5 separate regions of the Homo sapiens genome follow, and regions 2, 3, 4 and 5 are each linked to region 1. Evidence: promoter capture Hi-C in 16 types of primary human blood cells and fetal thymus (Javierre and others, 2016). All regions are on one chromosome and are shown on one strand. Each heading gives the region's core, a stretch centred on a gene start or on the middle of the fragment in contact. The rest is flanking DNA. Distances are from core to core; before and after follow the strand shown.

Evidence for each region. Contacts are between HindIII fragments. The CHiCAGO score rates a contact against its expected background, and 5 or more counts as called.
Region 2: the fragment with the promoter of FNDC5 here is called in contact with the fragment with the promoter of TXLNA in region 1 in 3 of 17 cell types (fetal thymus, M0 macrophages and megakaryocytes); the score reaches 8.5 in fetal thymus.
Region 3: the fragment with the promoter of TINAGL1 here is called in contact with the fragment with the promoter of TXLNA in region 1 in 2 of 17 cell types (M0 macrophages and fetal thymus); the score reaches 6.0 in M0 macrophages.
Region 4: the fragment with the promoter of PEF1 here is called in contact with the fragment with the promoter of TXLNA in region 1 in 16 of 17 cell types (monocytes, fetal thymus, activated CD4 T cells and 13 more); the score reaches 27.9 in monocytes.
Region 5: a contact is called between the fragment with the promoter of SYNC here and the fragment with the promoter of TXLNA in region 1, in 6 of 17 cell types (erythroblasts, M0 macrophages, total CD4 T cells and 3 more). The highest score is 9.1, in erythroblasts.

Annotation. Positions count from the first base shown.
Region 1 is chr1:32,175,740-32,182,012 of GRCh38, reverse strand. It overlaps TXLNA (taxilin alpha), which reads right to left and starts at 2,338. Exons shown (of 11, transcript NM_175852.4): 1 at 2,237-2,338; 2 at 1,499-1,699; 3 at 436-771. The coding sequence starts at 1,667. It overlaps KPNA6 (karyopherin subunit alpha 6), which reads right to left. Exons shown (of 14, transcript NM_012316.5): 14 at 5,450-6,273. RefSeq lists enhancers at 1,335-1,384, 1,395-1,554, 1,675-1,754, 1,642-2,400, 2,401-3,160 and silencers at 1,955-2,134, 2,275-2,464. The HindIII fragment of the contact is 3,390 bases long and covers 1,788-5,177 here.
Region 2 is chr1:32,867,861-32,874,133 of GRCh38, reverse strand. FNDC5 (fibronectin type III domain containing 5) reads left to right here and starts at 3,222. Exons shown (of 6, transcript NM_001441683.1): 1 at 3,222-3,481; 2 at 5,137-5,252; 3 at 5,746-5,944. The coding sequence starts at 3,244. RefSeq lists enhancers at 598-1,454, 5,883-6,273. The HindIII fragment of the contact is 9,260 bases long and covers 1-6,273 here.
Region 3 is chr1:31,573,726-31,579,998 of GRCh38, reverse strand. TINAGL1 (tubulointerstitial nephritis antigen like 1) reads right to left here and starts at 3,484. Exons shown (of 12, transcript NM_022164.3): 1 at 3,404-3,484; 2 at 2,541-2,865; 3 at 732-795. The coding sequence starts at 2,850. LOC105378626 (a long non-coding RNA gene) reads left to right here and starts at 2,102. Exons shown (of 6, transcript NR_188671.1): 1 at 2,102-2,155; 2 at 4,329-4,589. RefSeq lists an enhancer at 2,953-3,673. The HindIII fragment of the contact is 15,245 bases long and covers 1-6,273 here.
Region 4 is chr1:31,641,780-31,648,052 of GRCh38, reverse strand. PEF1 (penta-EF-hand domain containing 1) reads left to right here and starts at 3,177. Exons shown (of 5, transcript NM_012392.4): 1 at 3,177-3,212. The coding sequence starts at 3,189. It overlaps PEF1-AS1 (PEF1 and COL16A1 antisense RNA 1), which reads right to left and starts at 3,917. Exons shown (of 6, transcript NR_184313.1): 1 at 3,757-3,917; 2 at 3,207-3,341. RefSeq lists enhancers at 2,708-3,047, 3,288-3,357, 2,677-3,447. The HindIII fragment of the contact is 8,144 bases long and covers 1-6,273 here.
Region 5 is chr1:32,698,784-32,705,056 of GRCh38, reverse strand. It overlaps SYNC (syncoilin, intermediate filament protein), which reads left to right and starts at 2,287. Exons shown (of 5, transcript NM_030786.3): 1 at 2,287-2,449. The coding sequence starts at 2,397. RefSeq lists silencers at 1,738-1,827, 1,878-1,927 and enhancers at 1,288-2,053, 2,054-2,819. The HindIII fragment of the contact is 11,042 bases long and covers 1-6,273 here.

The sequences.
Region 1 (6,273 bases), core at 1,089-3,588:
TCAGGTGGCCCCATGGCCAGCCCAGCTTATGCAGATATTTGGGTTTTCAACTCTGGCCTAGTCTAATTTTCTTACTGTAAAGAGAAATATAAACTAAGACCCAGAGAGGAGAAGGGACACACCCAAGGTCACACAGCAGGTAGTACTGGCTGGCACAGGAGCCTACCCTAGCCTCCCGTCTCCATTTTCTCAAAGAGAGAACAGGTCCCATGCCAAGCTCCAGTTGCTCCAAAACCCAGAAGGCTTTGTGCTGGTAACTCCTGCATCTCTCTATGCCGTGGCCCCCACATCCCTGGCTTTGATTAGACTAGAGTGACTTGCTGCTCTGAGAAGTACCGTTTTCCTTTGAATCCTGGCAGAACAGACTGGCCCAGAGAACGTCAAGTCCAAACTCCCTCTCCTCACCAGCTTCACAAAGAGCCGCCCTCTGCTCACCCAAACCCTTGGCTTTTTTCTTCTCCTGTGGCCTTCGATGGTCTCGGTCTCCGACCTCGTCACTCTGCCGGATCTCTTCTGTGTTTGGATCCCCCTTGGAGGGTTCCTTCTCTCCATTGACTACTGGAGTTGGTTCAGGCTCCCCATTCCTTGCCACATAGGTCCGGGACTTCTCTGCATCTTCGGGTTCAGCCGGCTCACCCTGTGCCCCATCCTCGCCGGGGCCCCCCTGGTTATTGTCCACACAGTATGTGCTCAGTATGTCTTCCAGTTGGCGGCTCAGCTCCTCAGAGACATCACGAAGGGCCCCAGACTGAGCCGTTCTGGCTTGAGCCCCTACAGCAGGAGAGGATGAGGGGTAGAGTGAGAAAGAAGACGATTATACCACTGGTTGGGATTTTTCAGGCCCAGCCAAACTCATCAGTTTGAGTTAAATGTTGCCTAACTTTTTTTTTTATGGAAACTGAGAAGCAAGAATGGAGTATCATTCAGCAAATCTAGTTCCTGTCAGAATTTAGATTCGAAACATCTTTTAAATCAAGAAATTATAGTAATCGTTGCCTAACTTCTTTAAGTCTGTTTACTTGTAAAATGACACAACTATTTCTCACTACCACCCGAACATATTTGTTAGATCATAAAAGTATGTAAAGCATCAGCACACAGGGATGGCACGGAGCAACTTCTAGTCCATCTCCTTCCCCCCCACAAAACCATTTCTTGCCATTCAGATCATTCTAGAAATGCCTCAAACAGGAAGGGCAGTTAGCTGCTGGTGGCTGAGGTGTTTCTAACGGGACCTGGATTTCCTGACTGGGTGCCTCGTTTGGCTGCCACCTGACTTAATCCCGTCGGAGCTTCTCTCCAGAACTCTGTTCCTGTGCTTAGAGGGGGCAGCTCCGCCAACTCGCCAGAGCGCAGGGGGGACCGCGGCCCCCAGCACTGTCCTCTCATTCTACATCTCCTCCTCCCGGACAACCTGGCCTCGGCCTGTAAGTCCAGAAGCGAGGCCGACCCCACAGCTCCTCCCCCTGCCCGCTGGCAACGCAGAGCTGGCACACACCCTCCGGCTTCCGAGGAGCCTGGCTGCTGCCGGGACCTTCTGCTTCTACTGCAGGAGCCGCCTGGCTGGGCCGCTCCTGGGCTCCCTCGGGTCCTGCTTCCGGTTGTCCTGGGCTGCTTTTTGGATTGGATTGTTTGGCAGCCCCGTTCTTTTTGTCTTGGTTCTTCATTGTGATGAGCGATGCTGGGTCAGGAGAAGATCCTTTAGAAACAAACACAGTTGCTATTTTCCAGACTTCGAAATTCTTCGCAGCCTGGATCAGAAATCCCCACAGCAGGCGCACAAAGCTTCTTAAAATAAACGGACCGGCAGGCCCGGGCGGAGGGCGCCAACGGCTCTCTGGTCTTGGCGGGTCAGGAGAGCCCGACGTGCCGGGGCAGGCTTTCGGGGCGCAGCTCCCACAGCGGGTGAGGGAAGAGGCCTCTTCTCCCTGGAGCCACTTCCCGGCACAACCGGCCCCCTCGCGGCAGGCCGGGCGCGGGATTGGCTCAGGGCCGGAGACTGACGTGGCGGGACTCCCGGCACCGCCCCCGCCCCTCAGGCCCCACGTGCGCCCCCCGCGCGCGCAGCCACCCACGCCCCGCGCGCCCTCAAGCCGCGAGGCACGCCCGCGCATGCGCATATCCCCAGACAGCCCCCGGCCCACGCGGGGAGTTGGCGTGATTTCCCCACAGGCCGAGAACATCCCGGCCCGCACACTCTCAAATAGTCTCGCCCACCGGCCGCCGCTGCACGTACCTCACCGCCGACGTCCGATGGCTTCCCCACCTCTGGCCTCGCACCGGAAACCCCGAGTAACTGCTGCCGGCCAGCCGCCTGCTCCCGCCTCAGCCAATCAATAGCCGGCGCCGGCGCGGAGCTTGCTGGGAAGGACGAAGCGAGGGCGGCCTCGGAGGCGGGCGCCCCGGCAGGGCGGGGCAGGGAAAAGACTACGCGTCCCTCTTTACGCAGGGGCTAGCCGCAGATCCCAAGGTGCATAAGGGACTGTAGTCCTGGGAGTCCAAAAGGAGCCCGTCATTCTGCACGAGTGCCCATGTCAACCTTGTTTCTATCTCGCAGAAGCTATGCTTCAACTCCCAAAGCCTTGCGCCTGGCTGTTGTTTCCTGCAGGCCTCCATCAAACCTTCCTCCCTGGCCGTGAACAAATGTGACTCCATCCGGGAACTCCGAGGACTCGGGAAGAGGGATAGAGTCCTGGGCTGAGACTCAGGAGACCCATACTCCAGTCCCAACTTCATCACGGATTTGCTGTGTGGCTGGACGTTCTGTTCTCTCTCTGGGCCTCAATGTCCTTCTTCCAAAGGAGGCTTTTAATAACAATAGCAGTTCCTTGAACGCTTACTGTGTGCTTTCCCGCTATCTAATAGCTTGGTTCTCATAACCACTCATAGAAATAACTACTATCTGTTATCCCCATTTTACGGAAAAGGACAGTAAGAGAAAGGTTAGGTAACTTATCCAAGGTCATATCGATAGTGAGTGGTTAAAACAGGGATTCAAAACTGGTAAGTCTGAGACCAGCACCCAGGTAATTACCTGGTCTTTCACCCAGAAGAAACACTACCACAGCAGGTTTCCCTGAGGCAGTCAAGGTAACTTGTGAAAGTAGGTCATATTTTCCCCTCTCCATTACCATTTTGGCAGTCAGTTCCTCAGAAAGGTGCTGAGTTAGGCTTCAGGCATATTCATGAGCCTTTTCTCTACCCCACACTCTACAAAGTCTCACTGGGGTTAAAGTAGAAAAAACCCCCACAGTTCCCTACACATGAGATCACAATTCTGTATCCCCATTGCTTCTGGATAATGAAATCAAACCCAACAATCCTTGTGCCTGGAATTTGAAGCCTAAGAGATTTGACTTTTGCCAAACCCAAAATTTTTTGAGGCCCAGTTCAAAGGTCACTTCAGAGCCTTCCCAGTGCTCTGCAAACCGTACTTGCTCCCTAGGTCTGCAGAGTTGTTACAGCATTAGCAGTGAGGTGTTGAAATTACTATTTACTTATAAGTCAGTTAATTTTGCAAGAACTGTTGGCTAAATAGTCTAGTCCCAGAGCCTCGCATCAGGCTGTGGGTAGAGAAGATTGTAAACTGTTGTGCTAATTGAGCGTTGGTTTAGGGCTGTTAGGATGTTAAATATTTCCCCCAAAGGCTCAGTGAAAGACTTCAGAGCCGTGCATGTTGGATTTCAGATTTTCAGATTGGGGAAGCTCAACCGGTAAAATTTGAGAAAATCCCAAATTGGAAACACTTCTGGTCCCAAGCATGTTGGATAAGAGATATTCAATTTTTAGTATAATGATGGAACTGAGGCTCAGAAAGGTTGGAATCTAGATGTCCTGAAACCAAGGCCCTGATTATTTCTAGAAAAGCATTCTGGAAATCTCTTGAGAAGGCACCATATAAATCAGGCCTTGATAGATTTCCATATAACAAGGGTGTTCTAGGTGAGATAAAGAACATAAAAATGTATGCATGGGGTGAGGGATAGAGGATGTAGTAGAAGGGTCAACAATAGCCTAGAGGGGCCAGTTGGGTAATGAGAACAGGCAAGAATAATTGACAGAAACATAGGTTAACAAGTTACTTTCTCCTTTGCTATAAACAATATATAGCAACAATATTAGCACCTGCCAGAGTGAGGGAGAGGTGGTGATTGCAGTAAAATACAGCAGCTCTTGCACATTGTTAGCAAGCAGAAACTCAGGCCGGGTAGGGCCAGATTGTATTTTTGTTTTTTAGACAGGTTTTACTCAGCTGCTGGGGCTGGAGTGCAGTGATCATAATAGCTCACTGCAGACTCGACCACCTGGACTCAAGTGATCCCCTTGCCCCAGCCTCCCAAGTAGCTAGGATTACAGGTATGTGCCACCACAGCCAGCTAACTTTTAAATTTTTTTGTAGAGACAGATCTCACTTTGCTGCCCAGGCTGGTCTTGAACTCCTGGCCTCAAGTGATCCTCCTACCTTGGCCTCCCAAAGGGTTGGGATTACAGGCATGAGCCACAGTGCTTGGCCTCTTTTTAAAAATGGAGACTTCAGGACAGTCTTTTTCAAGACAGACATTTGATTTAAAAAAAAAATGTTGGCAACTAATTCAAACTTAAACACGCTCTGCCAAGCAAAACCTTCCTGTGGGTTCAATCAACTTTCTGGCTGCTTGTCTGTAATCTCTGCTTTAGGAATTATCTAAACTGAAGGGAGGAGTCTGTGAACTATTTGATCTTAAGAGGTTCAGGCTGGGCACGATGGCTCATGCCTGTAATCCCAGCACTTTGGGAGGCGGAGGCAGGCGGATCACCTGAGGTCAAGAGTTCAAGACCAGCCTGGCCAACGTGAAACCCCGTCTCTACTAAAAATACAAAAATTAGCTGGGCGTGGTGGCGGGCACCTGTAATCCCAGCTATTTGGGAGGCTGAGGCAGGAGAATCGCTTGAACCCAGGAGGCAGAGGTTGCAGTGAACCGAGATCACGCCATTGTACTCCAGCCTGGATGCCAAGAATAAAAAACTCCGTTTCAAAAAAAAAAAAAAGGTTCAAAGGGCTGTAGAGTGGTGCTGATGAAACTAAGTCAAAATCATTTAGAGAAACTCTAGAAAATGCAAACTAAACTACAGTGACAGCCACAGATCAGTGGTTGCTGGAGGTGGGGCAGAAAGGAGGGATTCTCAAGCGGGAAGCTTACGGCTTATGAAGGTCATAGATATATTCACTATCTTGTGGTTGTTTTATGGGTGCATATGTGTTTCAATTTATCAACGTGTATATACTTTAAATATGTACAGTTTATTGTATGTCAATTATATTTCAATAAAGTCGATGAAAAAAACTTTAGAGCAGGTGCAGGTTGGTACAACTCTTATTTCCACTGTTAAGCTACAAATTTAAACACCTCCTCATTCTCTTCCCCCAAATCCAGTCTAGGGTCACTCCAAGCCAAAGAAGACAATTTAGAACTTTGCAACAGGTTTTTATTTTTGCTTTATATCTATTACAGTGTTTGAAACCTAAAGAAATACATTTTCTCTTCAAATTTGGATGTGTATATAAATAACATTTGTCTGGACTCAGCACACTCAATGCCATGTTTTCTTCGCCTATGTCTGCTCTGAAATCAAGCTGTGTCTGTCTACCCAGGGGCCCTGAGAACATGGAAAATAGAGTTTATTGTTATTAGAAAAATAAAAGCAAATGAATTTGCAAAGAAAAACCAGTGAGAAGGATTAGATTCATCTTCCAAGGGTCCATAGCTGGTAACCCAAGCCATTCTCGGGGGATATCCAGTCTCTTGAGTGGCTGGGACTCCATTACCCACTTTCCTTCTTTAATAGGTCAAAGGCAATTCCCACAAAAGCTGGCTAAAAAAGCCGACACCCAACTCCAGAGTCTGAGGGTTCATGAAGATGTGGACTTTTTTTTTTGAGACAAGAGCCTCACCCTGTCGCCCAGGCTGGCACAATCTTGGCTCACTGCAACCTCTGCCTCCTAGGTTCAAGAGATTCTCCTGCCTCAGCCTCCCACGTAGCTGAGATCACAGGTGCCCACCACCACACCTGGCTTATTTTTTTTATTTTTTTATTTTTGTAGGGACGGGGTTTTACTATGTTGGTCAGGCTGGTTTTGAACCCCTAACCTCAAGTGATCTGCCCGCCTCAGCCTCCCAAAGTGCTAGGATTACAGGCATGAGCCACCGCGCCCAGCTGAAGATGTGGATTTTTTTTTTTTTTTTTTTTTTGAGATGGAGTCTCGCACTGTCACCCAAGCTGGAGTGCAGTGGC
Region 2 (6,273 bases), core at 1,973-4,472, 690 kb before region 1:
AAAAATAAAAAAATTAGCCAGGCATGGTGGTGGGCACCTGTAGTCCCAGCTACTCAGGAGGCTGAGGCAGGACAATCACTTGAACCTGGGGAGCAGAGATTGCAGCAAGCCAAGATCACGCCACTGCACTCCAGCCTGGGCAAAAGAATGAAACTCCGTCTCAAAATAAAATAAAACAATAACATGGATAAAGTAGGTGCTCAATTATTATATCCCCAAAGCAACTCCTGACCTCCTGATTCTTCCTGTGATTTGCAGGGCGGGTGAGGGGTGTCTAGTGACCATCCTTGACTGGGGCCATGACCATCCTAGGCTATAAAAAGGAAACTTCCTATTCTAAATGGGTACCCGGGGCTGGCTTGGGCACCTGCAGCCTGAGTTAGGTGCTGAGACTCTGGACACGCAGGAGGGTCCAAATGCTGGTGACCCCATTAGGTGTCAATGTGTAAGTGACCGGCCAGCCCTCAAGGGGGTCTCTGTGGAGTCCTCCAAATGAAGCCCAGTGAGTGCAGCTTGGGAGGACAGAGGCGCACCCTTAGTCCCTACCCAGGTCCTCATGGTTTCACTCATTCTTTCACTGCTGTGTTTCCAGAATATTACACAGGGCCTGGTCCATAATAGGTGCTCAATAAACATATGATGGAAGAATGATTTTTTTTCCATACAGTCAACAATCATTTAATGAGCCCCAACTGCATCGTAAGCCTTGCGCTAAGGGATGGGGTACATAAAGTGGCTGGGTTTTTTTGAGATGGAGTCTTTCTCTGTCACCCAGGCTGGAATGCAGTGGTGTGCTCAGCTCACTGAAACCTCTGCATCCCAGGTTCAAATGATTCTCATGCCTCAGCCTCCAGAGTAGCTGGGATTACAGGCACACACCACCATGCCCGGCTAATTTTGTATTTTTAGTAGAGACGGGGTTTCACCATGTTGGCCAGGCTGGTCTCGAACTCCTGACCTCAGGTGATCCACCCACCTCGGACTCCCACAGTGCTGGGATTACAGGCGTGAGCCAGCGCCCTGGCCTGCAGTGGCTGCTTCTGACAGCTCCCTCCCAAGTTCACCCAGGGCTCCACTAAATCCTCCCAGCCAGCTCTCACTGGCTGCCAGATTCCAGGCACCAGGGCTTTCCCCAGAATTAAGGCCCAAGCACCCCATGCATCATGAGGACTGAGAAGGCTGTACCCCCACAGTCACAACTCTCCAAATCCTCCAAGCCCCCTCCTTCAGCCGCCTTCTCTCTCAAGCCCTCAGGCACTGCCATCTCCTCCCTCCCAATGCCCTACATCTATCTAGGTTTTACCCAAAGAGGCCAGCAGATGGCGCCAAGGTTCCCCTTTCCCCAGCGCTGGACTGGAGGCCAAGACCCCACCAGGACCCTCCCTCCTTTTCTCCCCTGCAGGGACGGGAGTAGATTCTGTGTCCTCTAACTGAACCCTCTCCTTCCTGCTGGTTCCTGTGCTGGAGGCCTGAAGAGGCTCCAGTTGCTCCTGCGGGCCTCCTGGTTGTCTTCCTGTCTGATGGATGGGGGGTGGGGGGTCCCTAGGGGCTAAGCTGCAGCTGGTGGGGCGGGGCCGGGTGGGGTGGGGCAGGCAGCAGCTGCGGGGAGAAAGAGAGAGAAGATAATAAGGGGAGAGAAAGAGAAAGAGAGCAAAGAGAAAAGAGAGAGAGAGGTGCTCTGGCTCCGGGGCTCTTCTCCCAAACGGGTCGAGGTCCCAGCTGAGGCTCTCCCAGGACAAGGTATGTGGCGGGGGAAATGATAGGGCTGGGCAGTGTCACCCTGCCGAGTGGGGCAGGTCTGGGGGCACTGAGGGGATGGGCAGGAAAATTCTGCTGCTCAACAAGAGCCCCTAAGCTCGCTTCCATCTCACCCCTTCCAAGGTGACCAAGGAGGAACACAGGGCCAGCGAAGGAGTCCTGGGTGGGCATAAGGAGAGGAGGGTTGTCTATCGCTCCTCTTGACCCACTGTGTGAATCTGCACCAAGCTCTTCCCATCGGTAGACCTCACTTCCTTAATGTAAAACCAGGGGGATGGAGAGGAAGACCCTGAAGACGTTTCTGTGGCAGAACTTTGCAAGACGTCTCCTTTCCAAAGAAAATTAGCCCTTCCAGGGCTTCTGGAAAACCTTTAAGACCCAAAGGAATGCCCCGCTAGTAGTGGAATTTCGGATAGTCGTGGGAGGGGGCTCAGGGGTTCTTGCTGAGACAAAAGGCCCTGAGCCCTGGTCCATGCCTCTCTCCTCCACCTTGTTTCTCTGGCTGAGATGAGGGAAGGGGGCTGGAGCCACTCCCCTTCTCAGAGATGCTCTTAGAGATTGCTGCAGACTGTTTTCTGGCTGGGGAGGAGCTGGCCCCGGCCAATTCTAGAGTCTCACGAATCTCCGGATGGGTGAAGTCACTCTGGGTGGGGAGACAGTTCAGTTAAGCACAGCTTTGGGAGTCAGATCAGCCTGTGTTCAAATCCTGGCTCTGCTGCGGGTCCCTGGACAAGTCAAGTAGCCTGTCCAAGCTGCAGGCTCCTCCTGTGCAAAGTGTGCAGAGTATGACTTTACAGGGTTGCCCTGAGAATTAAGCCACATAATGCAAAGAAAGCTCAGCATAGTATCTGGCCCCTGGTAGACGCTCATTACTGCCCTCACTATGGGGATGAAAATGAAGGAAAAGGACTGGCCTGGGGTCACAGAGCTGGACTCTCCAGTGAGACAGAGCAGCCTCTTCCCAACCCCACTGGAAACACGGAGCCCTAGTGTCCACTTAGCACTCTCTGCTCACCCCAGCCTTACTGTGATCTCTCCCCTCTGCTCCCGTCTGCCCCAGCCGCAAGGCCTCGGGTCTACCGTGGAATGAGGGGATCCCTAGGCCCAGGGAAGGGAGGCGCGCTTAGGGGTGGGGGCACAAACGGGCATCTCGGTGGCACTTGTCCTCTCTCTACCCTGGGAAAGGGCAGAAAGCGGCAGCCAAGTCAGGGCTGTGCACGGGAGAGAGAGTGACCGCGGCGGGGGCGCGGAGAACCCCGCTGGGCTCCCGCTCGGTGAGAGGGCGGGAGCCGTGGGTCCGCGAAGCCCCTTCCTCCCCGGCAGAGGACCTAATAGGCAGCGGGGGCGGGAGTGGGGGCGCCCTCCGGTCCTCACCCCGCCCCCGCACCTCTCCCCGCAGCGGGGGCGCCCCGCCCCCCGGGCGCCCGACGTGGACGCGGCCGCCGCCACCGCCGCCGCGCGGGAGTCGCTGTCCGCGGAGCCGACATGCAGGCGGCTCGGGGCGGCGCAGGGCGGCCGGAGCGGCCGGGCCGGCCGGGCCGGGGGCCGGAGCGCGAGCGCGAGCGGCCGCCGGGCGCCGGAGCCGCGTCCCCCTGCGCCGCCCCGGGCCTGCCGGCCGGAGGAGCCACCATACACCCCGGGTCGCCGAGCGCCTGGCCGCCCCGCGCCCGCGCCGCGCTCCGCCTGTGGCTGGGCTGCGTCTGCTTCGCGCTGGTGCAGGCGGGTAAGGGGGCCCGGGGCGGGGGGCCGGCGCCGGGGCAGGCTCCTCTCGAGCCCAGCTACCTGGGAGTCCCCTGGTCCTTTCTCTGCCCCCTAGGGACTCCTGTCTCGGCCCAAACACTGCTCCCCTAACCCAGCCCCCAGCGTCTTCCTACCTCCTTGACCCCCAGACCTGTCCTTCAGTTTCCAAATCTCCCCTGTCACCTCAGCCCTGGGTTTCCTAGGGTCTTGTGGTCCCCAGTCCCCTAATCCCATTCCCCTAACCCCAGGTCTTTGCCTCAGCTTCCCTAGCTCCCTTCTTTGACCCAGGGAGCAGCTGAGGACACCAGTTCCCCCACCTGGGCCTCTCTCTGTGTCCCCAGGACCTCTCAAAGCCCTGCAAGCCAACTCTGCAGGGGCAGATGGGGTCCCGCTGTGCAGGAGCACGTGTGAAGGGGATGGGGGCTGGCACCTGAGGGCGCAGGGCGTGGGGTGGGCCCCGGCACCCCTGATCTGGTACAGTGTCTGGCCTGCCCCATGGGGCCGGCCCGTCCTTGCCCAGCCTCTCCTGCCACTCTGTCTTTGTCCCTCCTGGCTGCCGCTGCCCGGCTCATCTCTCCCTCCGTGGCTCGGGGAGCGCTCTCTCGCAGCTGTCTTTCTCAGATGCCCCACTTCTCTGTCCTCTGGTTCTGTGTCTGCCACCACCTGTCTGTGTCCTGTCTCTCCACCTCCCCCTCCATGTCTGGCTCTGTCTCCCTCAGGTCCCAGGCCCAGCCCCCTGGGTCTCAAGTTCACTCTCTGTGGGGTGAGGGGTGCTGCTCAGGCGCAGCTCTGCCCCGTGCTGCACCTGCCCCTTGGAAGATACTGAGCCTTATGTGACTGCACTGCCCCTCTCCTGGACGGTTTTCCTCACTGACCCCCACTATCCCTATCACTCTCACCCCCACTTCCCTCCTGTCTCTTCTGGAGTGATTCCTCATTCATCCTCTTCCCCTACCTGTTCTCTCCTCTCCACTCGCCATGGAGGGGCCCTGCTCTGAGTGACCCCATCTTCCCCTGCCACCTCCCCACCTGCATCTTGGGGCTGGAAGAGCATGGATAAGAGGCTCACACAGACTCTTCCGCAGGCTTTATTCTGCCTGGGCCACCACAGCTCTGAGGATACTTCTGTTCTCCTCACTCCCAGTCCAGGGCTCACCCCAGCCTGACACTTCTCGATCTCTGGGTCTTTCTCCTTCGCGCAAGGTCACTCATTGGACAGGGCAGTATTGTCAAAAGAGCACTGGACTGGGGAGTCCTTTTGTCTGCTTTTCATCAGCTAACCTTCAGTTTCTGTCCACCTATGTCCCCTACATAACTCTCTCCACAACTCTAACCACCCATCCCTTAGATAGGGCCCCGGCCCAGGCCCATCACTTTGAGCCTTGGACCCCTCATGGGGCCGGCCTGTGGCCAGCAGGGGCTTCCGTCCCAGTCATGAGGAGCCTGGGGCCTCTTGGGCTTGGTTCTTCAACCCACTGAAGAGCTGAGAGCCATGTCACTGGACCCCACTTGAGGCCTTAGTTTCTTCCTTCCCCTCCTGCATGGCCTTCCCCAGGTTTCCCCTTCTTACTTATGAGACAGTGGGTCTGGGCCTCACAATAGGGGATGCTCAGGCTTAGGTGCCTCCCCGTCCCCCAGACAGTCCCTCAGCCCCAGTGAACGTCACCGTCAGGCACCTCAAGGCCAACTCTGCAGTGGTGAGCTGGGATGTTCTGGAGGATGAGGTTGTCATCGGATTTGCCATCTCCCAGCAGGTAATGCTCCACTGTCCTTAGGAGGGAAGGACACATCAAGACAGTAGTGGCAGATGGGGGTAGGAGTGTGGCAGTGGTGGTGATGGAGAAATAGAAAGGAAATAGGAACTTGGGGCAAGGGAGATGAACAGCAATTTGGACATATGTCTGAAAATTGGGGCCCCATTCAGACATATGTCTGAAAATTCTCTAGAAGAGAATCAGTCAGTGAGGGAGGGTTTGGGAACTTTCAAGTGGAACACAGAAATTAAGGTTTTGATCTCAGAGACATCTGCATTTAGGACCTAGCTCCAGTGCTTACTAGATGTGTGGCCTTGGGCAACTTCCCCAACCTCTCTGAACCTGTTTCCTTCCCTGTAAAATGGAGATATTGATAGCGGAGGTGATGGAATGATGAAGATTGTGTATGTAAAGGCTTTGTCACCACTGGGAGGTGGGCAGGAGCGGGGCTGGTCACCGAGTGTTGACAGCAGTGACCGGCGCTTGTCTGCAGAAGAAGGATGTGCGGATGCTGCGCTTCATCCAGGAGGTGAACACCACCACCCGCTCATGTGCCCTCTGGGACCTGGAGGAGGATACGGAGTACATAGTCCACGTGCAGGCCATCTCCATTCAGGGCCAGAGCCCAGCCAGCGAGCCTGTGCTCTTCAAGACCCCGCGTGAGGCTGAGAAGATGGCCTCCAAGAACAAAGGCAGGCCCGGGTCACTGTTAAGAGGAATGGGGTGGGGTGAGGGGTGGTCAGGACCAGACCAGTGGGTGGCTTGAGGAAAGCTCTGTCTCCTCCCCCTTATCCCCTGCTGGCAAGTAAAGCAGTACCTGAGAGAGGGTTCACGCTAGTCCCTGACAAGACGCTGAGCATATAAACTCCCTTTAGACTTGGTCCTATCACTGCCACCCCAAGTAGCCATCAGTGCATTCTAGAATGTATGTTAGATGTGTGGGCACCTGTAGAAATCAGCACTGTTGTCTTGGGCTTGGCCCTAGAGGAGTGGCTGAGGGAGGAAAGGAGTGCTGGATCTA
Region 3 (6,273 bases), core at 2,235-4,734, 600 kb after region 1:
GGGCACCCCTCACCCTAGTGAGGCAATGGAAATATCTTATGCGCAATGCATTCCAAAAAGTTTCCTTCTCTCTGGGGCCTCTTAGTCCCAGGCAAAGAGGGAGTGGGGGTGGAGTGGGTGCAGGGCCGCCTCCTCCAAGTCGCAGGCTCCCCATTATTTCTATTAAGGCTTTCAGGGTTTCCTACCTGGCCCTTCTCCACTTCCCATCTCAGACTGAATAGGGGGGTACCCATGACCCCTTCCTCCTCCTACTGGGAATGGTGGGGAGGGGTGGGGAAGGAAAAAGGGGCCACATTTCAGGGAAGGCCCTGCTAGAGGCTGGCTGGCCGCCCGCTCAGCCATCCCTGACCCTCATCCGCTCAGGGCAGCGGATGCTGCAGTCAGAGCTTTCCTTCCTGGCGCCCCCTTCTCCCTCTGACTCTGCAGTGACAGCAGGAATAGCTGGGAGGAATAGCCCAGCCCAAGCCAGGAGGGGTGGGGAAGGATCTCAGTTCAAGGGTGACCCCTGGGCCAGGCACCCATGGCTGGCCATGCTTGAGGAATGTTGTTGGAATGATGTTAGATAAGTTGACTTGGTCAGTGTTAAAATTCCTCTATTGCAGATGAGGAAACTGAGGTTCAAAGAAGGGAAAAGACTTCTCCCTTGCAAAAGGGGTCAGGGATAAGATTTGAACCAAGTCTGTCAGCCACAGGCTCACAAAGCAAGACCCCTCTAAGCTCCAAACACTCACCAACGGTTACAGTTGTCCCAGTACGTTCCCAAGACTGGATAGATACGACCTCCATGCATACATCCTGTTGGAAGGGAAGAGAAGAGAAGTGGAACCAGAACCAGAGAGGATGGGCTAATTGGCCAGGTCCTTGGAGGTCAGGTACCTTGAACCTTTCCAAGATTCTCTCTCTTTCTCTCTCTCTGTCTCACACACACACACACATACCAGCTCTCACTGAAATTAAACTATAACTGAAGACATCACACACACACACACACACACACACCAGCTGTCACTAAAATTAAACTATAACTGAAGGCATCACACACACACACACACACATACCAGCTCTCACTGAAATTGAAGCCAAACTATAACTGAAGATATCACACACACACACACACACACCAGCTCTCACTGAGATTAAGCTATAACTGAAGACATCACACACACACACACCAGCTCTCACTGAAATTAAACTATAACTGAAGACATCACACACACACACACCAGCTCTCACTGAAATTAAACTATAACTGAAGACATCACACACACACACACACACCAGCTCTCACTGAGATTAAGCTATAACTGAAGACATCACACACACACACACACACACACACACCAGCTCTCACTGAAATTAAACTATAACTGAAGACATCACACACACACACACCAGCTCTCACTGAAATTAAGCTATACTGAAGACAACACACACACACACACACACCAGCTCTCACTGAAATTAAGCTATAACTGAAGACATCACACACACACACACACATACCAGCTCTCACTGAAATTAAACTATAACTGAAGACATCACACACACACACACACACACACACCAGCTGTCACTAAAATTAAACTATAACTGAAGGCATCACACACACACACACACACATACCAGCTCTCACTGAAATTGAAGCCAAACTATAACTGAAGATATCACACACACACACACACACACCAGCTCTCACTGAAATTAAGCTATAACTGAAGACATCACACACACACACACACACACACACACACACACCAGCTCTCACTGAAATTAAACTATAACTGAAGACAAATCCTGCAGGGTCACACACCAACTGCTGTTTGGGAAGTTCTTCAATGATTCCAACCTGGATTCCTCTTACTTTACTTGGATGCCAGCCACAACATTCCTGGGATCCTTTTCCATTTAAATAAGTTAGGGCTTGGAGATGGGGAGTGGGAGGAGCATGGGGAAGCCAAGGCCCAGAGAAGGTAAGCAACCGTCCTAAGATAACACAGCACTCTTGAGATGACAGCTCAGGTATGCAGTCTGCCGGCCCAAGCCCCATGGAACTGTGGGAAGGAACGCAAGTGATTCTCCTATTGGACAGGGGCAAGTGCATGGAAAAGGATGATGGTGAGGCTGAAAGCAGGAAAAGATTTGACCCATCTCCCAGGTATGAGCAGCCATCTCGGGGCACAGGATCCTAGAATCCTCAGCAAAGGCAGAAAAATGGCTAAGATGACCCTCACCAACCCATATGTGCCTTATCAGCCCAAGAGTGAGTCAGCAGGTGCGGCCAGCACCTTCCGTGTCTGGAAAAGAGACAGGATTGGGAGAAAATGTGGGAGGTTGCCCTTTCCCTGGGCCAAATTAGAATTCTAACCAAGGAGCTTCTTCAGTCTTGCTGGAGAGTAAAGTTCCCAGAGGGGCAGGGAAGAGTCCCAGATTCTACAGAGCTTCCCCTGGAAATGTCAGTGCATCCATCAGCTTTGCTCTTGAGCCTTGCTGAGTCTGAGGTGGACAAAGTGACCCACCCTCCTGGCCATCTTAGTGCCCACCTTGGATCGGGGGAAAAGGGGGTGGCACGCCGAGGCAGAAGTCCCAGAAGTCAGGGCAGCAGTCGGAGACCGTGCGGTTGCAGAAGAGGTCACAGTAACAGATGGCGCCCAGGTAGGGCAGGGCACAGTCGTCGGCACGGCCGCGGCAGCACAGGTCCTGCTCCTGGCAGTACCGGCCTCCCGCGTCCCGGATGCCCCGCAGGTGCAGACCCGGTGCTAGCTCCCGGCGCCCACGACCCTGCTGGGCACCCAGAGCCAAGTGGCCAGCCAGCGGCAGCAACAGCAGTAGCCCCAGTGGACATCGCCACATGGTGGCTCCTGGGCCCTGGGGGGCAGAGATGGTGGGCAGCAGAGACTCCCTGGAACACCAGGGATGAGTCTCCCAGTTTCCTGGAGCTGTGAGTTCAAGAGGGCCCAGCAGGGAGGGAGATCCCGATTCCTGAGTCCCCAGGCAGGACACGGGCAGAGGAGCCCCAGTGTGTGGGCCCTGGCTATAGGGGGATGGGGACTGGGCAGAAACGGAGCCCCTCCCTGACCTAGGCAGGGACCTTCAAGGACAAGGAAATGAGGGTGGTGGCATTCTTGGTGCTCCCACCCAACACTCATCCTGTGGACCCAAGGTCTTCTCTCCTGTCCTAGGTCTCTCTGCCCTCCAGCAGCCTCCATCCCTGACCTGGGTCCTTGACTTTGTGCTTTCCTGTCTCCCCCGGTCTTTTGGGTACACCTCTCTTCTGTTCCTGTGTCCCTCTGTCCCCCTCCACTGTCCCTCTCTCTGCCATCTGTCTTGGTTCCTCTACCTGCCCCCTCCCCCTGTTTCTTCTCTGTCTACACCTTCCGCCCTCTGAGCAGGGGAGCGTCCCTACCTGGTGAAGGTGTGGGCTGGGGCCCAGGCTGGCCCGCGCGCCTCCGCCTCCTGGCTCTGCGACCGCCGGACGCTCAAAGTCAAGAGAGGAGCGCGGGGCGGGGCGCTTTTTGTACCGCCCGCCCTCTGCACCGCCCCAGCAGTGGCGGAAGGGAGGGGCGCCTGGCTTGTACCTGGAGTAACTACCCCACAACTCATGGGCTTGCAGGGTGGAGAAACGACAAGCACACGATTGTCCTGGCTGGGTCTCCTGTGGCGGAAGCCGTTCCCTTAGGGGAACCCCAAGCAGGAAGGATTGCGGTTTCACACTGGGAAGGACTTCACAGTGGGCATCCCTGTGGAGCTGAGGGGCTCTGGTGGAGAAGGGGGGATATGGGCAGCCGAGCTCTGGGTTATGGACACAAGTTTGGGAAATGATGGGGAGGGCATGTGAGGCAAAATTCTGTAAGCCTCTCCTGACCCCTCGGTAATAAAAATAGCCATGCACACCCCTCTCCACTGTGCCCCCTAGGCTTGGGTGCCGCCCCCCTAGCCACCCCAGCTCCTAGGAATGATTGGAATTCCAGGAGTATGATCCTTAGGTGCCCTGGGCGGCTCATCCCTGGGAGGTGGGCAGGGTGTGGGGGTGGCCTCTGCACCCTTTGATCCCTTGTTGAGTCTGCCTTCCCTTGCCTGCTTGGGCCCCTAGACGAGCACTGCCCTCTCTAGCAAACCCAAGGGCATCCTGCTTGGCACCTGTCCCCCTCCAAGGGTCCAAAGGCAAGGGCCCTACCAGCTGGCACCCCCTGCAGAGGCCCTCCTTCCTGCCGCAGGCATAAACCTTTCTTTGCCCAGGCTGGCCTGGGACCCAAACAATGGGGCTTCTGTCCCGCCAGGTCTGCCGTCACCTTTTACCTCCCTATTGTGCAACGCCCTCTCTTCAACAGGTTGGGCCCAGGCCAGAGGTCTCTACCAGCAAAGAGGATAAAAGAGACTACACCTGGACAAACCCTCCCAGGCCCAGGCCTGAGCCTCACATGTGGCCCCGGGGAAGGCATCAGGGACTCCCTTTGCCCTCCCACTGACCTCCCTGCAAACCTCCCCCAAACCAAGGGGCATCCTCAGCTGGCCAGACCCTGGGGGAAGGGAGAGAGCCGAGGATCACCGGCACCTGTGGCTGGGTTACCCCTGCCATGGACCACTGGGTGGTGAGTCACCAAGGGGGTCCTGCCCTGGTGGTGGGGGTGGAGGGATAATATCCGGGGGCCCCAGCACTGGCACTAACACACCCAGGAGCTGCCCATCTGCTCCCTGCAGGGACCTGGGAGGACAAAGCCTAGGTGGGAAACTGAGGCTCAGAAGAATGCACTTGCCTGAGGTCGTGCAGCCAGAACACAGGCTCCCTGCCTGCCACCAGCCCACTCCTTTACCCCTAGTCACCCTTAGTCACCCACTACAGGTCTCAACGTGCTCCTGGTTGGGAAGTCTCTTTTCTTATCTAAACTCCATTCATCTTACTGCAGGACGGGCCCCTCGGTATTGGTAAATGTCATATCCTCAGGGTAAGAGATGAAAGCTGCTTTCTTTCAAAAGAGTTCGTGTCCAGAGTTCCTACTTTTATGGTACCTACTTTTTCATGGTTCTGGGGCTGGGGGCTTGTTTAGAGACATCTGGCCTCTCTTTTGCCCAAAATCACACCGCATAGGCTACCCTCGTGAGTCTGGGTGTGTTATCTCTGTGTGCATGTATGCATGTGTATATCTGAGTTGCGGTGTTTGTGGGGGTGTTTCTGCTTCTGCTTGAGTCTGTCAGTCCACATCTGATCGTCTGGGTTTTTTTTGCTTTTTGTTTTTTGTTTTTTTTTGAGACAAGGTCTCACTTTGTCACCCAGGCTGGAGTACAGTGGCGCGATCTCGACTCACTGAAGCCTTGACCTCCTGGGCTCAAGTAATCCTCCCACCTCAGCTTCCTGAGTAACTGGGACTACAGGTGCACACCGCCATGCCTGCCTGAATTTTTTTTGTATTTGTAGTAGAGATGGGGTTTCACCATGTTGCCCAGGCTGGTCTCCAACTCCTGAGCTCAAGCAATCCGCCTGCCTTGGCCTTCCGAAGTGTGTTTACCTGTCTATCTGCTATGTGCCTGTGTATCTGTGAGTCTGGATATTTTGGCTATCTGCCTGTCCTTGTCTGACTGATTGTCTGCTTGTCTATCCATTTACCTGTCCATCTGCTACATACCTGTGCATCTGTGTGTGTGTATCTGTCTGGATGTTGTCTCTGTGTCCATTATGGATCTGTCTGTCTGCCAGCGTGTGTTGTTTGCCTGCATTTGTGCACTTGTTGGCTTGTATGTCTGTGTGTGTGTCCTGCCTGTGCCTCCCTGTCTAAGAGGTGTCTGTGTATCTGTGTGGGAGTTGTGGCCATCTGCCTGTCCTTGTCTGCCTGCCTGTCTGTGCATAAGAGGCAGGGACTCAGAGCAGGGGATGGGAGCAGAGCCAGAGCCTCCCACCATCACTCAGCTTGGCACAGAGCCCGCCCCAGTGGAATTTTGTGACTCACTGGGTTCCTTGGCCGAGGAGGAAAAGGGCAGGGCCGGGGGTGCTGGACACCCCCACTTTCCTTTTCCATGACCCTTTGACCCTTTGCCTCCTAGTGACTCCTAGTGACTCATTGACTTATTATTATTTTTTTTGATGGAGTCTCGCTCTGTCGCCCAGGCTGGAGTGCAGTGGCGTGATCTCAGCTCACTGCAAGCTCTGCCTCCTGGGTTCAAGCCATTCTCCTGCCTCAGCCTCCTGAGTAGCTGGGACTACAGGCACCCACAACCAGGCCCAGCTAATTTTTTGTATTTTTTTTTTAGTAGAGATGAGGTTTCACCATGTTAGCCAGG
Region 4 (6,273 bases), core at 1,928-4,427, 530 kb after region 1:
GCTCAAGCAATCCTCCCACCTTGGCCTCTGGAGTGGCTGGGACTCCAGACACATGCCACCATGCCTGGCTAATTTTTTAAAACTATTTTTTGTAGCGATAGGGTCTCACTATGTTGTCCAGGCTGGTTTCGAACTCCTAGGCTTAAGCGGTCCTCCTCCCTGCCTCCCAAAGTGTTGGGATTATAGGCGCGAGTCACTGCGCCTGGGCTCCATTTATCTTTTTGATAACAGGAAGGTCACTTAACCTCTCTGAGCCTCAGCTCCTCATTATAAATGGGTAATAGTCTCTATCTCAAAAGACTGTGGTGAAAATTAAACAACACATAGTACTTAGCACAACGTCTGGCACCTAGTAAGCACTCAATACATGATAATAATAACTACTAACATTGAATTCATGCTAGGCACTATTCTAGGTGCTGAGGTTAGAGGACTACATAAGAAAATGACAATTCTACAATATACATGTAAACAAAGTGGACAATTCAACTAGTGACATGTATTATGAAAAAATAAGATAGATGATGGGAATGCTTGGGGGGCAGTGTCAAGAAACTCCCCCCACCCCAGGTGATATCTGAACTGAGACCTGGATGATAAGGAGAAGCCAACCAGTGAAAAGTCAAGGGAAGACTATCCCAGACAGAGGGAAAAGCTAGTCCAAAGACCTGGAGGCAGGAATGAGCAGGCAGTCAGAGACCAGCCAAAGCCAACATCCAGGAATGAGCTCTGTACATTCCAGGAATGGCACAACCAGGCCGGCATGGCTGGAATGAGGCAAGGGGGACAGCAACAGCAAGAAATGAGGCTGGAGATGCTGGTATGTGTGGCCATGAATGTCATTAGGATGAGTTTAGCTTTTATTATAAGAGTGATGGGAAGTCCCCAGGGAGTTGAAGCCAAGGAATAAGATAACCACTCTGGCTGCCTGTGGAGAAAATGAAGCGTGGGGAGAAGAGTGAGAGCAGGAACATTGGTCAGTCGGCTATTGTAGTGATCCAGGCACGGATGATAGTGTCTTGGACTACAGTGATAGTGCGAACAGGGAGAAAAGAGCAGATGTGTACATGTTTGAATTAGAGCAAATGGAGATGAGGGAGGTGAGGGAGTGTGTGGAGAAAAAAAGGACACACAGGAATGATCTTAGGTTTTTGGCCTGAGAGACTGGGTGGATTTTCTGAGATGGAGAGGAATGGGTTTTGGGGAAAACACCAAAAGAAAACTCTTATACAAGGCAGGCTGGAATACCACACAGTGACAGTACCAAGTGCAAAGGGGGAGTGGCAAGAGAGAGTGGCTAACTCTGGAGCTAAGGGGAATGTGGGAGGGTTAGGTGGAGAATGGAATTGGAACTGAGCCTTGCAGGACTGGAGTTGGGAGGGCTGCTGGTCCAGGTGAAAGGAGTGGTTTGAACCTAAGTTTGGGGCATGAGCAGGTATAATAAGCTCATTTTCAAATTTACACATTTGTTCCTGTCAGCTAAGAAAAGTGAAATTTAGAGAGGTTAAATAACTTGCCTAAATAAAATGTGGTAGATATACACTGTGGAATACTATGCAGCCATAAAAAAGGAACAAGATCATGTCCTTTGCAGGGACGTGGATGGAATTGGAAGCCATTATCCTCAGCAAACTAACAGAGAAACAGAAAACCAAACACCGCATGTTACCACTTATAAGTGGGAGCTGAATGAGGAGAGCACATACACCACTGGGGTCTGTCGGAGCGTAGAGGGAGGTGGGAAGAGGGAGAGCATCAGGAAGAATAGCTAATGGATGCTGGGCTTAACACTTGGGTGATGGGATGATGTGTGCGACAAACCACCATGGCACACATTTACCTATGTAACAAACCACATCCTGCTCATATACCCCTGATCTTAAAAGTTGGAAATTAAAAACAAACAAACAAAAAACCTGCCTAAGGTGATACAGTTAGAAAGTGATAAAACAAAGATCCTCCCTCCAAAGCAGAAGTGCTGAATGGTGGAACTGAGCACAGAAATACAGAGTAGCAGAAGGGGCCGTAAGATTGGAAAGTTGAGGCTGGGCCAGATTCTGAAGGGCCTGGAGTACCAGAATGAAGAGATTGGGCCTTATTTTGTAGGCGTGGATGAAGAGCATCCATTGTAGGCTGTGTAGTGGGCAAGTGGCATGATCAGCACTGTGATTTTGGAAAGTGCACTTGGTTAGATAGATGGACTAGACTGGATAACAGTTCGTAACATTCATTTATTCATTTATTTTAATAATCGTGTCAGTCGCTATACTAGGTACTGGAGTTATAATGACAAGCAAAAACAGACAAAACCCTAGCCCACATGAAAGAACTTGACAAAGAAATCAAATAAGCACACAAATAAGTGTAGAAACGGAACCACTGAGTGGCAAGTACATGGTGCTGAGATCACTCGGTCACCAGGATTTGACCTACGATGGGGACCGACCTAGACCTCCCTGCTGAGAACTGGACATCCATTGACCCCGGTTCTAGGCGACCCACTGTGAGCTAGGGCAAGGCAACTGCCTCTCTGCACCTCAGTTTCCCCATTTATGAAGAAAGAGGCACTAGATAATTCAATTTTCCTCCAACTCTAATGATCTGGGGTTTTTTTCTCCAAAGACCACAGATCTGTATCCCACTACAAGGGTACTAACTGGTACCCAGTACCTTGACATTAGAGGAGTAATTCCGCCATCGCCTCTCCCTACCGGGAAGAGTCGGTCGGTTCCCCGTTGTCAGGGCAACCGCCTGGCCACCGCCCCTCGTCTCCTTTCCCGCGGCTCATCTGCGGAAACTCAGGAGCTACTCCAGCAATTACGTCACTATCATGCGTCCCATTTGCCAGGTTATAACATGGCTACCGCAGCAACACCCCACCCAGGCTTCTCACTAAATTTCCCAACCTGACCACCTCTTCGGCCCACTCCACCTCAGGAAAAGGAGGAACATTAGCGCTGGTACAGCCGCCAAGACTTCCGGAAGCTCCATCAATCACTTAGCTCCCCTGGTCTCTCGGGTAGGCATCCGCCCACCGCCCCCATCGTCACTTCCGTCGGCCGACAGCACCCAAGATTGACAGGCGCGGACGTCCAATCAGATGCGGGCCCAGCCCCAAAGCCGAGACGAGGGGCGGGTTTGAGAGCGGAAAGCCCCACCCCTTGCCTGAGTGTGACGTCAGAATCACCATGGCCAGCTATCCTTACCGGCAGGTGAGTGTGTGAGGGGCCCGCGAATCCAGGTAGCGGCGGTGCCAGGCGCAGGCCCGACGTCCCCCTGCTCTTTCTCCCCGCTTTCTCCGCGCCCTTCCCACGATGGGTTCGCTTCAGCGAGGCCTTGCGCTGTAGAGAACCGAAAAGGGACCGTCGGTCGCGCCCTGCTCACGTCATGAAGGACCGCACATTCGCGAGGTCGTGTCGCGCCCCCTTGACGTCGCTCACTCGAGGATTTGGGGACCTTGGACCCCACAGGTCCAGGCTGGCGCTGGCCTGGGCTCCACAGCCTCCCAAGGCCCTCATGGGGGCCTTGGGCGGGGGCATCAGCCATGACCGGAGGTTTAGAGTTCTGGTTCCGCCGATCTCATTTGGGGCGTCGGATAAAAATCCAGGCTTCCGGACCCACCCCACACTGCATCAGAGTCATCAGGAAACTCTGGTTGTAGCAGGCGCCACAAGTGAGCTGGTTTGACCACTGACTTAGTTCAACACCGCCATTTCGCGTGTAGAAAAGTGAACCCCGAGAAGACACAGAACTTACCTGAAGTCACCAGGCAGTTAGGCAGCAGGGCCGAGGTCAGAACCCGGGCTATCTTCAGATGCCTCTTCCCCAGCGTATCTTGATTCAGTCAGGAATACCGCAGCAAGGTGATTCTGTGGCCAGAATTCTTTGTTGGGTGATAGTAGGGTGTTGAAGTGCACTTTGGTGTCAGAGGTAGGTTCATATCTTAGCTCTACCACCTAAATAGTTGTGAGCCCTTGAGCAAGCTGTTTTGCCTTTCTGAGTCCAAGTTTCCGCCTGTAAAATAGGGCCGAATAATAGGATCTGCCTCATAAAGCTGTTGTGGAGAGTCAGGAGGTGATGCTTACGAAGCGTTTGGTACATAGTGAGGTGTAACATGTGTTGCCCTTTAGCATTTTGATTTTTAGTAGACTTCTAAAAGGCCAGTGCCCGGAGGGTCCTCAAAATAGAGCCCTCATTTTACAGAGGAGGAAATGAAGCCCACAGAGGGCTGCGATCACACAGTTATTTAGGAGATGAAATCCATAAACGAAATGTGGGAAAACAAGATCAATTGGTATATTACACAGTGCTCAACTGAGTTTAGTCACAGGCCAAAAGATGTAACAGTCCTTCCAGGGAGTGCAGTCTTGTGCGGGTTACACAGTGTTTGGACCTCCATTATCCTAATCATGAAGTCCCTATCGGCATGCAGGTATTATTACCCCTAATTAACTGCTGAGGAGCAAACCCAAAGAGGTTAAGTGGCTTCCCAAAAGTCACACGTAGTAAGTGAGGGTGAGGCCATGACCAGAGCTTAGGACTTCTCTTATTGCATCCTTAGAGAGAGGTAGGAAAGAGAGAGGCCAGTGCGGGCTGGAGTTAGGAAGTGTAGCATAGCAGTTGCTTCCTAAAGTCCATTCCATTTGCTGAGTCTTGGGAGGTTTTAATAGATATTGTTAATATAGGAGGATTCTGTAGTTAACTAAAGTTTTGGAAATACTCTTAAGTATAGCTGAATAAGTTTATTGACCACAAGCTATTTCAGAATCCTTAATTTGCTAATGTACATTGTAAATCATCCAGAAAGGAATATAATATGCAGTATTTCTTAAACATATCTAACCATAGAAACTCCGCCTCCCGGCTTTCTTTTCAGATGTCTGGTCACTTTTTTGACTCTAGTATTTCTGAGGAACACAGGCTGAAAAAACATTCATAGCGCCTTGTTTCCCAGTGGCTGGTCTTCTGCCTCAGAATCAGCTGAGAGCTTGTTTAAGAAAGCACACTTTTGGGTCCCACTTCAGACCTGTTCTGTACCCAGGAATCTACATGCTAATAAGCATTAGGGACAATTGGTGTGCATCCTAAAAGCAGTGACAGGTTAGAGAGAACTGTGCTAGAATTCTAGCTGTATTACTTAATAGTTATATACCCCTGGACAAACTAAGGGCTCTGAGCCTCAGCTTCCTCACCTGTATAAAGGGAGAAATAATACCTGTGAAAAGGGCTAAAATGAGGTTAAAATGCAGGGAGCCTGGCGTGTTGCTAGTGCCTAGTACATGCCAGTGTCTGGTGGCAGCTCTTGCTGCCGTGACTGCTCTCATGATGCCATGCTGCCTGGGCTATTCCTGGAGTGAAATACTGAAAAGGAGCACAGAGAGAAGAGTCTGGAATAGAAAAAGAAATGTTGTTTTTTTTTCCTACCATACCCTTGTCCGCCTCCTGGTCTCAGGTGTTCTAAGAAAGGAAACGAGTTGTTTTAAAGCATCTCAGTCAGTGCTGCCTCCCCTCCACCCACTACATAGCTTTGGAGGATTCCAGCCTATTGTTAGGAGTCAGAATTCCTGTAATTTTCCACTGCTTCCAGTCCAGGGTACCCAAGCAGGGACTGGGTATTGGAGTAGTAAAATTCAAGCACCCTTTGGTCCTATGGGGGAACGAGCTTGGTGGATTTCAGTGCTTAAGAGCTTAGTTTTTGAGGCCAGAGAGAGTTGATTTCAAATCCCTGCTTTGTCACTCCCTTGCAGAAGTTTGTTGCAAAAGTCTGAGACTCAGTTTTCCCTTTTTTGAAAAAAATTTTTTATTTATTTGTTTATTTTTAAGACAGAGTCTTGCTCTGTCGCCCAGGCTGGAGTGCAATGGCACAATCTTGGCTCACTGCAACCTCCGTCTCCCGGGTTCAAGCAGTTCTCCTGCCTCAGCCTCCCAAGTAGCTGGAATTACAGGCGCACGCCACCACACCTGGCTAATTTTTTGTATTTTTAGTAGAGACGGGGTTTCGCCATGTTGGCCAGGCTGGTCTCAAACTCCTAACCTCAGGTGATCCACCTGCCTCAGCCTCCCACAGTGTTGGGATTACAGGCGTGAGCCACCACGCCTGGACTAGTTTTCCCTTCTTTAGAATGGGGTCATAATAGTATCTACCTCAGAATTACTCTAAAGATTAAATGAGAAAATCCACGTAAAGTGCTAGGTATGGTGTTGGGCATGTAGAATACTCCAAGTGGAGGAGTAATGCAGTTATGCAGATTGAAGAGGCAATGTGATAAGTAT
Region 5 (6,273 bases), core at 1,038-3,537, 520 kb before region 1:
AGGCATGGTGGCTCCTGCTTGTAATCCCAGCACTTTGGGAGGCTGAGTCTGGAGGATCCCTTGAGGCCAGGAGTTTGAGATCAGCCTTAACAACATAGTGAGACCCCATCTCTATTAAATAAAATTTTACAAAACCCAACAAAACAAAAAAGCCCATAACAAAAAAATAAATGGGTGGACATTATGGGCAGGGGGTGGGGAGGCATCAGAGAAGGCCTCTGTGAGATGTGATCTGAGACCTGAAGGAGAGTAAAAGGTGGGCTGTGAAGAGCTGGAAAGGGTTTTCTAGGCAGAGGGAGCAGCAGAAAAGGCCTGGCTGGGTGTGGTGGCTCACTCCTGTAATCCCAGCACTTTGGGAGGCTGAGGTAGGAGGACTGCTTGAGCCTAGGAGTTTGAGACCAGCCTAGGCAACACAGTGAGACCTCGTCTTTACAAAAAATACAAAAATTATCCAGGTGTGGTGGTGTGCATCTGTAGTTCCAGCTACTCGGGAGGCTGAGATGGGAGGATCACCTGAGCCCAGGAGGTTGAGGCTGCCGTGAACCATGATTGCACCACCGTACTCCTGCCTGGATGACAGAGTGAGACCCTGACTGCAAGAAACAACAGCAACAAAAAAAACAACAACAAAGGCTTGGAGGTGGGGAAGTTTCTGGGACCCTGGGGAATTCAGGGTTTCAGCCTAAAGAAGCGCTGAGCAGGAGGGTAGGAGCGGGTCAGAAATTCAGTCCTAGGGACAGCCTAAGGCCAGGTCCTGGGCTGGGGGTTGGAGGGGCAGAGCCAGCTCTTCTGAATGCCACCCTTGCCGCCTGTTGCTTGGTACCACAGCAAACAGAGCCTCTGGCAGGCCTGCCCTTGCTGCCTTAGCTCTCCTCTGGCGGGCAGCAGATGTCAAATGCCCAGCAGCTGAGGCTTCGCCAGCCTCCTCCCCTGGAATAGTTCGGGGGTAAGTCAGAAAATGACCAGCAGCCTCAAAACCTGGCTTTTTCTCGTGCGTACCTTACAAGGGTATATTTGGCTGCCCTGGGTGTTAAATCTTCCACCCCCTTGCATTAGACAGAGAAATATAAATATACAGCCACAGGCAGCACACTCAGACGCGAGGATGAATGAACATTTATCAACCCCCAGTCACGCACAAGCACACAGTCAGAGTCACAAGCGGGACCATATGCATGCCCCCCACACAGAGTCAAAACCGCCAGCCCCACAAAGACACTCCACCATGGCACAATCACCACACACATTCACCCTGAGATCACACAATCACACATCCACATGCTCACACACAGACATGTACCCCACAATCACCGCAGAGTCACACAGGGGCACACAAGCCCACACACATTCAACACCACGGCATGCTTCCCCCACCGGCCTCCCAGGCACCCCAGCCCCTGGGGCTTGTTATGGTGCCAGCATTCTTCTGCGATTGAGTCAAAGACCTCCCCAGACAGGGTAGCTAAGTGGAAAAAGGAATCCGAAGGAAGAACGCCTGAAGCCCAGGTCTGGGAAGGGGCCCAGCAGCTTCTCTCTTGGGGAGAAAGACGTCAGTGCTGGTTTGACCCTCACACTAGTGGGCTGAGGACGTGGGGGGAGGTATGTCTTGAAGTTGACAGAAGTGGGCTGAGTGGGGTGACAGGTGGAGCAGGAGAGAGACCCCAGGAAGCCTCAAAGGGTGGGGCAGAAAGTGGGGTTAAATATGGACTCAATGTGATAGGCGTAAACTCCTCCGCAGTTCTCTCTAACCCCAGCCACCCAGCCCGCCCCCAGGCTCCAGGCTGTCCCCAAACGCGCGGGGTGTGGCCGTGAACCCTCCTCCCCGGCCGCGCCCTGCCCCGCCCTTCACGACAGCTGCCGGGGACAGCCCGGAGTGCCCAGAGGGTGGCTGCGGCCCTTCCCCTCTTGGGTGGGGACCAGAGGGCGCTGAGCGGCAGCGGACACCCCCAAACACTCGCGGGAGAGGGGTGCTGGCTCCCTTTGAGCAGCCCGCCCAACCCTGCCTCCACCCTCCCAGGCTGGACAGGGAAGGTGCTCCCTGGGGCTTCAGACCCCCCTTCTGACTCCCCCTGCAACGGGACCTCACGAAAGGAAGGGTGGAGAGAAGGTTCGGGAAGACGAGGGGGCTGGGAGGTTTGGAAAGACAGCTCCAGGCCCCCGTTCCCACCCCCGCCCCAGGCTGGTCCGGGAGGGGCAGCCTCTCCCCGCCCCCAGGTCCGCGCGGCCGCTCCCTCCTCCCCCGGCAGGAGCCCCGGCCAAGTGGGCGCGCCCGGCCCGGGGCCGGCCGGGATCCGGTGTCGGTTGCAGCTGGCAGTGCGGCGGGCGCGGGCGCCGGAGCGAGGGGCCCGCGGGCCCGGCTATTAATAACGCGGCCGCCAGCCCGGGGTCGCGCAGCCATGGCCAGCCCGGAGCCCCGGCGCGGCGGGGACGGCGCCGCCCAGGCCGCGAGGTAGGACAGTGCCGGGCCCGCGTCGCCGCCCCGCTGGGGAAGGGGTGCTGCTGGACGGGTTCCCTTTCCCCCCGACCGCGGGCGTCTTTCGCCTGTCTAGGGGTAGTGGTCCAGCCGGGGTGGGGCACTGGAGCCGCCTCGTGAGGGGACATCGGGGAGTCGGGCCGTCCCGGGGTCCTGGCACCTCCGTTTGTCTGTGGCTTTTTATAATACCCCTCCCCCTCCCGGGACTACATGAAAATTAACCCTTCCAGGCGAGTGGGCATCCACCGCTCAAGTGCCATTTGGCCCATAGCAGCCAAAGACACTTCTCGCTAGCCTTCATTCCTCCCTGCAAATGTCAGTTGGAGACAGAGGCCTCCCCTGCTGAAGTGGCTGTGTGGAAGCCACTTGGTGCAAGGCTGGGCATCTGCCAGCTTGAAGTTAAGAGTCTGTCAGGGCTTGTTCTCTCCCGTCTGGCCTGGGATGGGTGGGGGAAGGGTCCAGGGGCCCTCCCCACTATCCCTCCTGGCAGGGCACGGCTGATTATTGGGGGAAGGGACCTGTGGCTGAGGGGTTTGGGGTGAGGTGTATTTCTGTCCCAGGTCATACTGTGGCTCTGGGACTTCCCAGTGTACCAAGAGGTGAGGGTGCAAATACATAGCTCCCGACACCCCTTCACTGTCACACAGGGGCACAAAGCTGAGCGGTCTTACACACACACACTCACCCATACTGCTGTCCACACCTACAGCTACAGTCAGACACACGGACTCTTGCCTGCACAATGTCACATGGACTCCCAGCCACATCCCTGAACAGGGTTGGAGAGCTCTGCGGTTCTCTGGGGACAGGGACAGAGTGGCAGAGGCAGGCTGCCCAGGGCCCAAGGAAGCCCGAGGTCAGGGGCCCCAACTAAGCTGGCTTCCTCTCCTCTGAGCCTCCTGTCATCTGCTTCTTTCCCTCCTCTCTCTGTTTAAAAGAGGCGGCTGTGTGAGGGCAGCACCCAGCAGAGGCCTGGCACCATGGGTGGGGTGGTGGAGGCAGCACGATGTGTGCTAACAGCACAGCTTGGAGGTCAGGAGGCCTGGGTTTTACTTCCAGCTTTGCCATTCGACCTTGGGCAGATTTCCTCCTTGGAGTTCATCTGGTTTCTGCCTGTCTGCCCTTACAGAGCCCCACCCTAGGATATAGAGCAGAATGAGAACTCTGCTTGTCCTTAGGAAACTCACTATCAGGGAGACAGACACATGTACTTCTGTAACTGGAGCAATAAGTGTGAAGATGTGCTGCATACAGAGTGCCCTGAGAACACACATGGGGCTGTCTGGGAGATACTTTACGGAAGAGATGAAGTTTGAGCAGGGCTTGAAGGATGAGTAGAAATTTGTTAGATAGATAGAAGTATATTGTGGGCCCGGCGCGGTGGCTCACGCCTGTAATCCCAGCACTTTGGGACGCCGAGGTGTGCGGATCACCTGAGGTCAGGAGTTCAAGACCAGCCCGGCCAACATGGTGAAACCCGGCTCTACTAAAAATACAAAAATTAGCCAGGCGTGGTGGCGTGTGCCTGTAATCCCAGTTACTTGGGAGGCTGAGACAGGAGACTTGCTTGAACCCAGGAGGCAGAGGCTGCAGTGAGCGGAGATTACACCATTGCACTCCAGCCTGGGCAACAAGAGTGAAACTCCATCTCAAAAAAAAAAAAAGTATATTGTGACTGCTGCATGCCAGGCTTTTTATATGTGCTGTAGTTACCTCTTTTGGACCTCACGCCTATCCTAGGAGGGTGGTAAATACTGCAGGCCTTCTCCAGCCTCCACCACTTACAACAGTTGTGGAACCTTGTGTGAGTTCTTACTCTGTGCATTGGCTTCCTCATCTATAAAATGGAGATAATAGATGAAGATTCTTTCTTTCTTTCTTTTTTTGAGACAGAGTCTTGCTCTTGTTGCTCAGGCTGGAGGGCAATGGCGCAATCTCAGTTCACTGCAACCTCTGTCTCCCAGGTTCAAGCAATCCTCCTGCTTCAGCCTCCTGAGTAGCTAGGATTACAGGCACACACCACCATACCCAGCTAATCGTTTGTATTTTTAGTAGAGACGGAGTTTCACCATGTTGGCCAGGCTGGTCTCAAACTCCTGACCTCAGGTGATCCACCCGCCTCGGCCTCCCAAAGTGCTGGGATTACAGGCGTGAGCCACTGCACCCAGCCAATAGATGATGAGGATTCTATAAATGAGTATTCATGTAAAATGCCTAGAATAATCTTGAACACGGTGAAGTCATTCCAAGGTGGGCGGCTCGGCACGAGAATGATGAAAGGGCCGTCTGCTGGGAAAGCAGGGACTGTTGAATATCAGAGTGAGTTTGGCTGGCTGAGCAGGTGCATCCTTCCTGGCCCTGGCTCTAGGAGCTCTGCCTTCCCAGGTAGTACAGGGTTCTCTAGTTAGGTGGTTTTTGAGAAGCTGCAATTCTCAGCTGGACACCGTGGGCTTAGAGTAGGAGGTGTAAAAAGTTAATGCAAGCTCTAGGATGTCAAGCATTGGGTGGGTTGCAGGAATAATGTGAGAGGAAGCTAAAAAAGGTATGTTTGGGGCCGGGTGTGGTGGCTTATGCCTGTAATCCCAGCACTTTGGGAGGCCGAGGCAGGCGGATCATGAGGTCAGGAGTTCGAGACCAGCCTGACCAAGATGGTGAAACCCTGTCTCTTCTAAAAATACAAAAAATTAGCCAGGCATGGTGGTGGGCGCCTGTAGTCTCAGCTACTCGGGAGGCTGAGGTAGAGAATTGCTTGAAACCAGGAGCCGGAGGTTGCAGTGAGCCGAGATTGCACCACTGCACTCCAGCCTGGGCAACAGAGCGAGACTCTGGCTCAAAAAAAGAAAAAAAAAAAAAAAGGTATGTTTGGGCCACATCTTTAAGGACCTTGAAACCATGCGTAGCAATTTGGGTATTTATTGGTGAAGTGGAGCAATAGTTCACTCTGTGTTGTAGCAAGTTAACTGTGGTGGTGTAGAGAATAGATTGAGGTGAGGAGAGGAGGAAGTCCTTTTAGAAGACCAGGACAAAAGTGCCAGTGAGACAGGATGTCTTGGAGTAGGGCCCTGATAGTGGGATGCAGAAGAGGGGGATGGAGACTGTAGTCTTTCTAAGATAGAAAGGTCACTTTTTGGCCAGGCGCAGTGACTCGTGCCTGTAATCCCAGCACTTTGGGAGGCCATGATCCCTGGTGGATCACGAGGTCAGGAGATTGAGACCATCCTGGCCAACATGGTGAAACCCTGTCTCTACTAAATACACAAAAATTAGCCAGGCGTGGTGGCAGGCACCTATAGTCTCAGCTACTCAGGAGGCTGAGGCAGGAGAATCACTTGAACCCAGGAGGAGGAGGTTGCAGTGAGCTGAGACCACGCCACTGCACTCCAGCCTGGGCGACAGAGTGAAGCTCCATCTCAAAAAAAAAAAAAAAAAAGAAAAGAAAAGTCACTTCTCAGTGAACTGGCTATACAGGGGAGGGAAAGAGCTGTCTGAAGATTTCTTGCCTGTGGCCGGATGTGGTGGCTCATGCCTGTAATCCCAGCACTTTGGGAGGTCTAGGTAGGAGGATCGCTTGAGCTCAGGAGTTTGAGACCAGCCTGAGCAACATAGTGAGACTTCATCTCTACAAAAAGTTAAAAAATTAGCGGGTGTGGCGCTACGTGCCTGTAGTCCTGGCTACCCGGGAGGCTGAGGCAGGAGGATGGCTTGAGCCGGGGAGGTTGAGGCTGCAGTGAGCTATGATCATGCCACAGTACTCAGGCCTGGGCGACAGAGGGAGACTCCATCTCAAAAAAAAAAAAAAA